3 separate regions of the Homo sapiens genome follow, and all the other regions are linked to region 2. The links are contacts of gene promoters, found by promoter capture Hi-C in human tissues and cell types (Jung and others, 2019). All regions are on one chromosome and are shown on one strand. Each heading gives the region's core, a stretch centred on a gene start or on the middle of the fragment in contact. The rest is flanking DNA. Distances are from core to core; before and after follow the strand shown.

Evidence for each region. Contacts are between HindIII fragments. The study calls those that stand out against the background at their distance.
Region 1: a fragment that was not itself captured here is called in contact with the fragment with the promoter of ZNF532 in region 2 in 1 of the 25 tissues and cell types used here (dorsolateral prefrontal cortex).
Region 3: a contact is called between a fragment that was not itself captured here and the fragment with the promoter of ZNF532 in region 2, in 1 of the 25 tissues and cell types used here (aorta).

The regions. Positions count from the first base shown.
Region 1 is chr18:57,659,939-57,663,703 of GRCh38, forward strand. It overlaps ATP8B1 (ATPase phospholipid transporting 8B1), which reads right to left. Exons shown (of 28, transcript NM_001374385.1): 21 at 2,545-2,677; 22 at 1,236-1,524. All of the region lies in intron 2 of ATP8B1-AS1 (ATP8B1 antisense RNA 1), which reads left to right. Among named protein-coding and RNA genes, the nearest start is that of ATP8B1-AS1, 31 kb to the left of the region's middle. The HindIII fragment of the contact is 6,266 bases long and covers 1-3,765 here.
Region 2 is chr18:58,862,917-58,867,024 of GRCh38, forward strand. ZNF532 (zinc finger protein 532) reads left to right here and starts at 1,961. Exons shown (of 10, transcript NM_001375912.1): 1 at 1,961-2,469; 2 at 2,554-2,663. The HindIII fragment of the contact is 28,079 bases long and covers 1-4,108 here.
Region 3 is chr18:57,770,489-57,774,349 of GRCh38, forward strand. All of the region lies in intron 1 of ATP8B1 (ATPase phospholipid transporting 8B1), which reads right to left. It overlaps LOC124904310 (a long non-coding RNA gene), which reads left to right and starts at 604. Exons shown (of 2, transcript XR_007066388.1): 1 at 604-742. The HindIII fragment of the contact is 5,328 bases long and covers 1-3,861 here.

The DNA of each region.
Region 1 (3,765 bases), core at 851-3,350, 1.2 Mb before region 2:
ACTTCAGCTCAGTGATAATAATACGACAGAGCTGGAGGTGACATTAGGGATTATTTTCTTTTCCGATGAGAAAACTGAAACCTGAGCATAAGCCCAAGGTGACACCGGATTTTGGCAATAGGATGAGGATGAATATCCAGGTCATTAGTTTGAGTATTTTTAATACAAGATACTCCCTTATAGTGACAGAGGGAGGAAAAAGGAACAGAATTCAGACATAGAGATGAGGGCTGTGGGTGTGCTTCTGCAGGCTTTAATACCAGCACAACTGTATTTCTGCATGGCAGGACTCAATATTTTAATTGTGTGGACTTAAATTCTAGCATCCAGAAAAAGGCAGCCTTCTAGGGAGGTGAGGAGGATGATGAGAGCACGTGGAAGCTTTTCTTCAGTGCTAAACATGTTACTCTAAACTCACACCAGGTGACCCAATGATGAAGTTCCCACAGATTTACCAAAGGTAGGAAGAAAGTCCCAGAAAGAAATGCTTAGATGAAGGAGAATGATATTGTCAAAGCAAGCACCAGCCAGAGTTCAATAATTTATGTCTTACAAAACTTATTAAATATCAGGGTTTTTTGTTTTGTTTTGTTTTTTTGAGATGGAGTCTCACTCTGTCGTCCAGGCTGGAGTGCAGTGGCACGATCTCAGCTCACTGTAACCTCCGCCTCCTGGGTTCAAGTGATTTTCCTGCCTCAGCCTCCCGAGTAGCTGGGATTACAGGTGTGCACCACCACACCTGGCTAATTTTTGTATTTTTAATAGAGACGGGGTTTCAGCATCTTGATCAGGCTGGTCTCGAACTCCTGACCTTGTGATCCACCTGCCTCGGCTTCCCAAAATGCTGGGATTATAGGCGTGAGCCACTGTGCCCAGCCAATATCAGGGCTTTTAATAAACCCAAAATATGGGAAGAGAACCAGTAAGAGAGAAAAAAATACACAACATCTATATAAAAGAATAAAAATATAAGGATAAATTTCCCCCCATAGACCTTATTTTCCTCTTCGCATCCTTCAGAAGCCCTGTCAGTGATACTCTTTCCTCCTGATGGGCTGTGGGCTTTCTGGGGGTAGGGTCACAGGCGTTGTCATGGTTAAGTGACTTTATGAAACATCTGCTCTATGAAAACCTAAGCTGTAAAATCTAAAAAAAGAAAATCCACCCCCTACACATTCCAGCCATTTCTCCTCTCTAGCACGTTGGGCCTCACTGGCCGTGGGTGCATGACTCACTTTTGATCATGTTCACGTCATTGGCCCCATCTCCGATGGCCAGCGTGATGGCTTTCTTGTACCTCTTCACCAGGTCCACCACCATGGCCTTCTGCTTGGGGGTGACGCGGCAGCAGATGACTGCGCTGCACTCGCAGGCCAGGTCCACAAAGTTTTTCTGCCGCTGCTCTTTCTTAGCTTCTAGCCTCCTTTTACTTTGGGTCCGCATCCGTCTTTCTTCTTCTGTTCTTGGGAACTTCAGCTTCAGAATCTTATTTCTCTTGGTCTTTTTCTCGAGAAGAATTTCATTCTGTGAAATCAGAGAGGGAAAAGGTTACATTCACTTTAGTTTTACCCCAGGAGTACCATTCCCAAGATTTAAATTATGTGAAGGATAATTTTTGGATTATGTCACTGATTATATTTGACAAATAAATTTGATTTTATAACCAAAACATGTATATATATGTGTGCGTGTGTATGTATATACACACGCACACATATATGTATGTGTGTATGTATATACACACACACACACACACACATATATATATATATATATTTTTTTTTTTTTTTTTTTTGAGATGGAGTCTCACTCTGTTGCCAGGCTGGAATGCAGTGGCACGATCTCGGCTCACTGTAACCTCTGCCTTCCAGGTTCAAGCAATTTCCCTGCCTCAGCCTCCCGAGTAGCCGGGACTACAGGTGTGCACCACCACGCCTGGCTAATTATTTTTTTTGTATTTTAGTAGAGACGGGGTTTCACCATATTGGCCAGGATGGTCTCCATCTCCTGACCTTGTGATCTGCCCGCCTTGGCCTCCCAAAGTGCTGGGAGCACAGGCGTGAGCCACTGTGCTCAGCTATATATATATTTTTCAATGGAGATGGGGTCTTGCTGTATAGCCTGGGTTGAAGTGCAGTGGCTATTCATTCACAAGTGTGATCATTGCATGCTGCAGCCTCGAACACCTAAGCTCAAACCACCCTCCTGCTTCAACCTCCAGAGGAGCTGGGACTACAGGCGCATGCCACCACATCCAGCTTATAAAATATATATGCAACAAAAATTTAGAAAATCTAACAATCTATAAAGAAGAAAATGAAAAAACCCATTAATTAGTAAACCAAGATAACCACTTTTACCTCTTTGGTATACATCCTTTCATATATCATATATTATTAAGTCTCAAACTTGGAAAAACCACACTTTCATGTATAGGCTAAGAGACTTTTAGGTTGGCAGTTAACATGTGAAAGCATCTAAAAGTGGCTCCAAATGAACTTCTTTCTTTTGAGTTAAAGGCACAGATACACTAATGATACGTACCAACCAAGAACCAGTGATGATTAAGGCACGGTTTCCACCGGGTGGAAAAAAAGATTCCTGCACAGGAGGTGCAAACTTTGCGTAGACGCCACCTCTATTCCTCTGGTTTTCCATCCTTGCATGAAGAAGAGAACTAGGGGAAACCAAATTTCAGTGTTTAAAGTGTAAGACCCTAAATAGGCCCTTGACTCTGAGATAACTTTGACTTAAAAAAAATTGTGACAAAAAAACAAAGTTTACCATCTTACCTATTTTTGTTTCTTTATTTTATTTTCATTATAATTTTTTTGAGAGAGGGTCTCACTCTGTCACCCAGGCTGGAGAGCAGTGGCATGATCATGGATCACTGCAGCCTTGACCTCCCAGCCTCAAGTGATTCTCCTGCCTCAGCCTCCTGAGTTGCTGGGACTATAGGCACACGCTATCACGCCTGGCTAATTTTTGTATTTTTTGTAGCAATAGGGTTTTGCCATATCCCGGGCTTTGACCATTTTTAAGTGTACAACTTAGTAGTGTTAACTATAGTCACATTGTTATCCAACCAATCTCTAGAACTTTTTCATCTTGCAAAACGGAAACTCTATACCTATTAAACAATAACACCTCACCTCACTCGCCCTCCAGTCCCTGGTAACTTCCAGTTAACTTTCTGTTTGAATGAATTTGAGCACTCTAGATACCTCATATATGTGAAATCAAACAGTATTTGTCTTTCTGTGACTGGTTTATTTCACTTAGCTTAATGTCTTCAAGGTTCATCTATATAATATATGTCATAATTTCCTTCCTTTTTAAAGTTGAATATATTCCATTATGTGGAAGCACCACATTCTGTTTATCCATTCACTCACTGATGGGCACCTGGGTTGCGTCCATCTCTTGGCTGCTGTGAACAGTGTTGCTGTGAACATGGGTGTGCATGTATCTCTTTGAGATCCTGCTTTCAATTATTTTGTGGATATACCCAGAAGTGGGATTGTTGCATCATATGGTAATCCTTTTTGAAATTTTTTGAAACATCACCATACTGTTTTGCATAGTGGCTGCACCATTTTATATATTTCATCAACAACACACAAAGGTTCCTTCAACAATGATTGTTATTTTCTATTGTGTTTTGTTTTTGATAGTAGCCATCCTAAAGGGTGTGAGGTGTTATCTTGCTTTGGTTTTGATTTATCTTCCCCTAATGATTAGTGATGATGAGCCTCCTTTCACATG
Region 2 (4,108 bases), core at 711-3,210:
GTCTTCCATCCTTTTGTGGCTCAGTTGAAGGCGAAAAGGGCTCCAAACCACTAACTAACCAGAGGAGAGCCCCTTCTTCCACCTCCAGGGAGAATTTCAGATTTAATTTGTCCGAAGATAGCGTGCTCTCTTCTTACTCATTTGCCATCATTACGAGGAAAACAAACCACCACCTTGGCTTCAAGATCCTGGGTAGAGGCTCACGGTCTTTTCAACCATCTTTGGCGAGGCCTTGCTTCCTTCCACTCGAGTAAGTCGCGGCTTGGGGCCACGGAAAGGACTGGGTGAGAGCCCGCAATGTCGTTGGAAAAAAGCAGCCCTCCCTGCGCCCCCTCACCAGCCCCACCACCCCGCTCCACTCCCGGGGCGAAGCCGCGAGCCAGCGGCCCCGTATGGGCGAGACTTGGCAGGTCCGCGGGGCGCCTTCTCGCCGCCGCCGGACTCGGGGCTCCGCAGCGGCCGGGCGTCGGCGCCCGCCGGCCGCGGGGCTTCGCGCTGCCGCCGCCCGGTCCCGGAGCTCCCTTCCCCCACCGGCCGCCCCCTCCCCCTCGCCCGCGCTCCCTTTTGTTCGCTCGCCGCCCGGGCCGAGCCGCCGCCGCCGCCGCCGCCCGGCCCGGCGGCGAGGCCGCTCCACCGCACACGCACACACAGACCCCGGCAGCGGGAACGCAGATGACACGCCCGTAACATGGAAGCCGCCGCCGCCGCCGCTCCGACGACAGCAGCAGCAGCCACAGCAGCAGCCGCCGGCGGCGCCGCGCTGAACAAAGGTCATCCGAGCTGCGGCCCAGACGCCCGGGCTTGACCGCCGCGAAGGCCAACCCCGGGAAGGGGGTGGGTGTGCGCCTCTGGGGGTGCGGGGCGGCGGGAGGCGGCCGGGGCGAACGAGGGGCGCAGGGCAGCCGGACCCAGGGGCGCGGGTGGGCGCCGGGCAGAGGCGGGGTGCGGCCCCTCGTGCCCACTCCTGCGGGCCGGGGTGAGCGCGTGAGGCTCAGGCCCCTGGGCCTGCCCGCAGTGGCCTGTCCCACCCTGGCCTTGGGGACAGCCGGCCTTCGCGCCCCGCCAGCTGGCTTGGGGGGCCGAGGAGGAACCGCCCGGGCTAGGCCCCGCAGGTTACGAGACGGGGGCCACGTGAGCGCGGCTCTCCTACTCCCCCCGCCGGCGCCGGCCGGGCACAGATGCGTTTCCAGAGGCCTCCGTGCCCCCTCTCCCACTGGCCCTGCCTTCGCCCCCCGCCCCCTCCCCAGACAGCCCCAGTTTTCTTCCCCCGAGGTGAAGGGATTTGGACTTCTCCCCCCAGGTGCTTGAAAGAAGAGAAGGTTGGAGGAGGAGGAGGAGACTGGGGGGCTGCTGGTGGTGGTGACAGGGCTGGGAGAGAGAGGAGAGGGACGGAAGGGAGGAGGGGGCTGGGTGGGGTGGGGGTGACAGCAGAGAGGAGCCTGGTCAACAAGCCAGCACCACTGTGCTAGGAGGCCAGGCCGGCTCTGCAGCCGACGCATCCCGTGTGAGCAGACACACATAGCTCGCTTTCTTGGGGGCTCTTTGTCAGCCACCAACACAGAGAGCACACACTGACACACACGTACACAAAGATCTGAGCCAGGTTGTGGGAGGTAAGTGGGGGAAGGAGAAGGAGGGGGAAACAGTGTCTGCGGTGGGCTGTGGGGTGGAGGGGAGGGGGGATGGGCCCTGAGGGGCTCTGGGGTGCTTGCGAGGTGAGCATTTCCAAGGCTGTGTGCTCGTGGGGTGGGGGGACACACGATGACCTTCTCCTCCTCAGGAAGACCTAAGAGGGAAGAGCAAACCCCAGCGAGATCCCCCCTGTGCTGATGATTTTCAGGGACTTGTTGGCAACTCAGCGAGGGTTGCCATAGCTTTTTTATGTAGGGTGACCAGAACCGGCTGAAACTGGTTTGAGGCAGATCAGCTCCTGAACACAATGCAGTCACTGAGCTACTACAGTAGGATAGCAGCTTCCTCCCTTCATGGCAGCCAAAAGCAGAGGAGCTTGCAGGAAGGTACCATCCCTACACAGTATGTGAATGCACACTTAGACACCACACAGCACTGGTACGTGACTAATGGAGCCCTAAAAGATTCTGGGTAGAGAAGATGGAAAAAAAGGTGCAGGTTTGCAGGGTCTGAGATTACTTGGGCTTTTCCTGCCTTTTTCTTTTGCTTAAGGGATGGACAAGGAGCTGAGATTTATGACCCTTATTAGAGAAAAAAATGTGCCTTGCTAGGGTGGGGACACTTGGTTGATGCAGTCTCTCTCTCTCTTTCTCGGTGTTTATAACAAAACAAAACCAAAATGAACTGAGGGGTTTGTAATGGTAGTTTGTTTGTTGCTGGAGAATGCTACTTTGCATGCTTTTTTTCTCTTGCAGGGTATGTTCTGTCTTGTGCTTTTTCTTTTAGAAGCTACTAAAGGGTGTTGGGGATGCTTCTGACTATTATGAAGGCCAAAAGGTAACAATATCGTTCTAGGAAATGAACATAAATGCATTCCAGTGATGCTGTTAGCCATACATGCTGTCTTTTTTTTCCTTGTAGGCCTGTTGACTGGGGCTGCTTTTAACCCTTTCCTATTTGCTGAGAATGCAGCCGTGTGACAGTAACTGAACATTGGTCTAAAGTCTTTCCAAAAGGTCAAGGTTCACAAGGTGAGATACGCTGTTTTGAGCATGAATTTAAATATTTATTTGCAGATCCATTTAGACACAGACGGACCGTGGATTGCTACCCAGGAGATAAAATTGGGTTCAGAGTGGAGAAGAAATGCTCTTAATGTTATCCCAGTTTAATGGGATTAGAGTGACTTTATGATGGTATTGCGATCAAGGCGAAATCTGAATGCCTTCATTAAATCGCATGTGTCTGGGCAATTGGGAGAGTCAGGCCTGGAAGGAAGCGAGTGTGGAGAATGGTAGGCGTCAGGGCCTTGTGGAGAATGTGCTGTTTTGCATAAGACGAAAGCAGTACACATGTGGCATTTTCCCGATGATTATAAGAAAAGGAAGGGCTTCACCAAATCGAGGCAGCCTAGCCACCTTTTTAGGATTTGAGGAGTCTGAAGGTAGATTTGCCTTTTGTTCATTCATCACCTTTCTTTTACCTTGCTCTCTTGTGTTAACCTGAAAGGTTTTTCACTCCGACTCAAGTGGTGGAATGTCTTTTATTGATTTTGGGGGCTGTTGACGGTGAGTTCGCCATTGGATTCTTTGTGGCATATGTTTAATGTGGAATACTAATGCAATACCAGGGGGAAGCCGGGTAGTCTGGCTTCATCTGTGAAAAGATGCCTGTTAACTCAAAGCTGTACTGGAATGGGTGGTAGAAAATGTCTGATGCCTTTAAAGATCGCAGTTAGGTTTGAGCAGGCATTTTAATGCACCTTCCAAAACCAGAGGTTGGAGAGGAGAGGAGAGAAGGAAGGAGTGAGGAGAGTAGCAAAGTGAAGAACAAAGGCTGAGGGGGCTTGCAGGAGAACACTCAACATTTTGCCTTGGGTTCCTTGTGAAAAGAACTGCAACTTCCCCAAACAGGAAACCAGCAGCTCCAGAATGGGATCCAGTGTGATCTCAACAACAGATAGAACTGGTCCTGCCTTTCTGCTGGTTTTTGGTAAAAGTACAGTCAAGAGGAGCCCATAGAAGACATGACTGAAAATAAAATTTTCCCCTACTTCGAAGTGGGCATTTTGTTCCTCTCCGTGTTCAGCAGAATAGGGGCTTTTCAGCAGTGCCGAGGATCTTGGAATTGGTTAAGTTGTGTGCTGGCAGTTGGTGGGCAGGATATCTGCAGTGAAGGACGTCAAGTATGCAAGGGTTTTATTGTTAAAATGTTTTTCATTTGGCTACAGAACATCCACTATGTGATAAAACTGGCAAAAGGGAAACAAGAGTGCATGGTTAGCTCAGGATACTTTATGGAGTATTTAATAGAGATAAATGTAATCTTGGACGGATATACCAGTAAATAGCTTACATGATGGAACAAAATTCTTTACAAATCACTGTGCTAAAATTGGTTTTCAATTCTCCATCATTTCTGACTGCCAGAGGTTCTGTGTATGAGTGTGGCAGGAATATGCTTGCAAAGCAGATCC
Region 3 (3,861 bases), core at 378-2,877, 1.1 Mb before region 2:
TTCCTCACTCCGTGAGACACAAGGCTCCTTTCTCCTGCCTCCAGCCGGCCCACCCTCAGAACAGGGTACCCCTGGAGCCAAATTGTTGAGGCAGGAGCTCCAGATGGGTAGAAATGGGATAGAGGAGAAGGAGAGGCTGAGACAGGGACTTTGAGATGCACTGCAAGCCAGCCAGTGGGGAGGCTACCCCTTGGGGGCAAACCACACGCAGGGGACAGGTATACTGGGGCTTGCCTACTGCGGCAGATCGCAAGTTCATGGCAATATACCTGTAGGTGAAAACATGTCAACATGCCCCAATGTTAAGGACAGAACAGCAAAGGGACAGTCAGATACGAGTTAAAGTCACCGTTCTTCTAGAAACATGGATGTGAATTTTGTTTGTTTTGTTCTGTAACAGAGTCTCGCTCTGTCGCCCAGGCTGGAGTGCAGTGGCACGATCTCGGCTCACTGCAACTTCTGCCTCCTAGGTTCAAGCGATTCTCCTGCCTCAGCTTCCTGATAGCTGGGATTACAGGCACGTGCCACCACACCTAGCTAATTTTTGTATTTTTAGTAGAGACAGGGTTTCACCATGTTGGTCAGGCTGGTTTTGAACTCCTTTTCAAGTGATCTGCCCACCTCAGCCTCCCAAAGTGCTGGAATTACAGGCGTGAGCCATTGCACCCTGCCTGGACTTGAATTTTTGTCAGAAAGAGATTTGCAATTAATGCTGATTGCAACTGATGGCAGAATTAAGATGGTAAGTCTTATATCACAACCACCTCCTAAAATCAAAATGGAGCTGTTTCTGTAGGAGTCAGACTACCTCCTTTAGAGGATATGGGAGTAGTCCATCACTCATTCAGACAGTTTTATTAAGCGTGATATAGTCTACCTCTCTCAGCACTGGGCGTGGTGCATCTCCTATTGTTAGGCAATTCCCTTACTTCCTGATCCTTCAATTCACTTACTTCCTGATCCTTCAATTCACTTTCTTTATAATTACGAAATGGTCTGAGATAACCAGGTTCCCCTTGCTCAAGCTTCCAAAAATCAGGCTGACAAGTTACATTTGGACATCTGCTCTTCAAAAGCCAAAGGCAGAGTTTTCTGTTAAATAATGAGCTGTCCAAGCATATTTTGATTCATTCAGGCCACATACAGCAGCAGGAGTTTCTGGGTGGTGCCTCAGGTCTAAATTTTACTGTAATCCTACAGGTTAGAAATCAATGAGCTGATCAGAACATATCCAGTTTCCAAAGATATGAGTGGCACCATCAATATAAATTAGTTCTCCAGTAATGTCAAAGGGCACACTTAGCAGTGCTGTCAGAACAACCAGAAAAACCACATTCAAAAGGGAACACAGCCTAAGGCACACAACTCATGATAAATACCTGGGAAAAAACCAGTTAGCTCTGCCTTTAGCTGTTCCCACCCCAATTTTCACGATTAAAACTACAATCGACATACTAATTAGTCGGCAGACATCTCTATAATGTTTATACTCCTAAAAAACATGTTATGTTGGTTAACTGAACCTATACAATACTTAGAAATCTCCCTAAAGTTATCCTAAAAACAAAACAAAAACAAAAACTTTGCAAGCTTTCTGAGTTCAAACCTGTAATTTTGTTACCTATCAGTGCTTTATAAAAGAGCTAAGATAATTATAAGGAACAAGCCTCCTAAAATGTAAAATTCCATTGTTCCTCTACTACCCGCCCATCAGTGGCAAATAAACACCTTACCATGACATTCACTGTGAGTATTGCTAGCGGGAGAAGTGGAGGAGAAAGCAGTCAATTATACCTGATGATCAGGGATGGAGAGAGACAGGAGGGATGCTGAGTTGGCCTTGAAGGTCAAGTCCCAAGCTGGGCCACTATCTGATTGGGAGATAGAAAGTGAGAGGAGAAAGGCATTTCTGGAAAGAAATCCCTGGGGGCAAATATTCTGCAGCACTGAAGGCACACAGGATTAGTTCAGTTACTAAAGTGCGGGTAGACAGGGGAGGAAGAAGAAGAGAGTTGGAAGAGGAGACTGGAAAGCAGACTGAGGCAAGGCTGGGAAGGCCTTGGGTGCTAGCGGCATTTGGAATTTGTGTGCTAAGCAGGGAGAGGCCATCTGAGTTCTCCCATGCATTGAGTAAACAACACGTCCCGACCTCGTGGCAGGTATTCAGTCAGCTGCTGGTGAGCAACGTGGCTCCTGTCCCTATGAAGCTTAAAGTCTAAGGTAAGGCAGACCCTAGGAATTCGGCGCACAGAAGCCTCTCTGCTGTGATGGAGAAGTAACAGGGACGATGAGGACATAGAGCAGGGAAGGGGGCCTAGGAAGCTATTCTGGAAGAAGTGAGTTGGTTCCTGAAGTTGAAGCACCTGCAGAGGTGAGGAGGTGGGGAGCAGAAGTGCAGGATCCATCTGTGCAAAGAGGCTGGGGCCTCAACAACATGAACTGTTTTAATCAGATTTGCATTTTAGAAATGATAACCCTAGGCCTGGAGCGGTGGCTCATGCCTGTAATTCCAACACTACGGGAGGCAGAGGCTCTACTAACAAATCTCTACTAAAAATACAAAAATTAGCTGGGTGTGGTGGTGCATGCCTGTAATTCCAGCTACTCAGGAGGCTGAAGCAGGAAAATCTCTTAACACAGGAGGCAGAGGACGCAGTGAGCCAAGATCACACCATTGCACTCCAGCCTGGGTGACAGAGCGAGACTCTGTCTTAAAAAAAAAAAAAAAAAGAAAAGAAAGAAATGATAACCCTGACCAAGGACTCCAGGAAAAGATGGTGTTAATCTGTGGCCAAGACAAGAGTGCAGAAAGTCCTTACTGTCCTCTGGCAACAGGGGCCAAAGGCGGAGGCTAATAAGGTGGTGCAGACAGAAAGGGTGGGATTTCTGGCAGAACTTTCAGAGGCAGAGGCAGCATTTTACAACTCACTTCATCCGGGCAGGGGGTCTGGGAGGAAAAACATTGAAAAAGGTGCCCAGTTTCTAGCCTTAGCAACTGCTGCAGGCAGCTGAACTCTGCAAGGGTTCTTATTTGGCCCTGACATTCTATACGCACTTATTAGCATTTTATTCAAGAAGAGGGTGGTTCCCCCAAATGTTTCCATATTTAGCCAAAGGAAGCTAAATTTCAAACTTCAAGTGTCTACTCAAACCTAAGACTGAACCCCTCAATTTCCCTCATAACTCCATTATCCCCCAGGCTTCCTCACGTCAGTAAAAGGCAACCCCATCTCCCAGGTGCTCATGCCAAACACCTAGAGTCATGCTGGAGTCTCATCTTCCCTCCTACCCTGCTCCCTATTCATCCGTAAGCCCTAGGCTCTGCCTTCCAAATGTTTCCAGAACCTAAAACCTCTCCTCACCTCCCTGCAAGCTGCTTGGCTGAAGCTCTGTTCTCCCTCACCCGGATTAGAGGTAGCCCCAGACAGCATGCCCTTCAGTCTAGCTCCAACATGGAGGGCAGGCTGATTCTTTCCAAAGGTAATCAGATGGAGTTACTCCTCGGCTCGAAACTCTGCAGTGGGTTCTCACTTCTCTCAGAGTAAAACCCAAAATCTACCTGCTCTCTTTCCCTCTCATCTACAGCCACCCTGCTGTCTCCCTGGTCCTGGAGCTTGGGGCCACACAGTGTCTGTTCCTGTACCTGGAATGCTCTTCCCCCGTAGCCACAAGGCTTAGCCCCTCACCTTACTGTCCTAGCTCTAATGTCACCTTTTTAGGAGCCCAATCAATCACCACCATATTTAAACCCCAGCCTTGCCAGTCCCCCTTCTTTACATTGTTGTCCATAGCACTTCTCATCTGCTATCAGACTTTAAAATTTATTAGGCTGGGCACAGTGGCTCATGCCTATAATCCCAG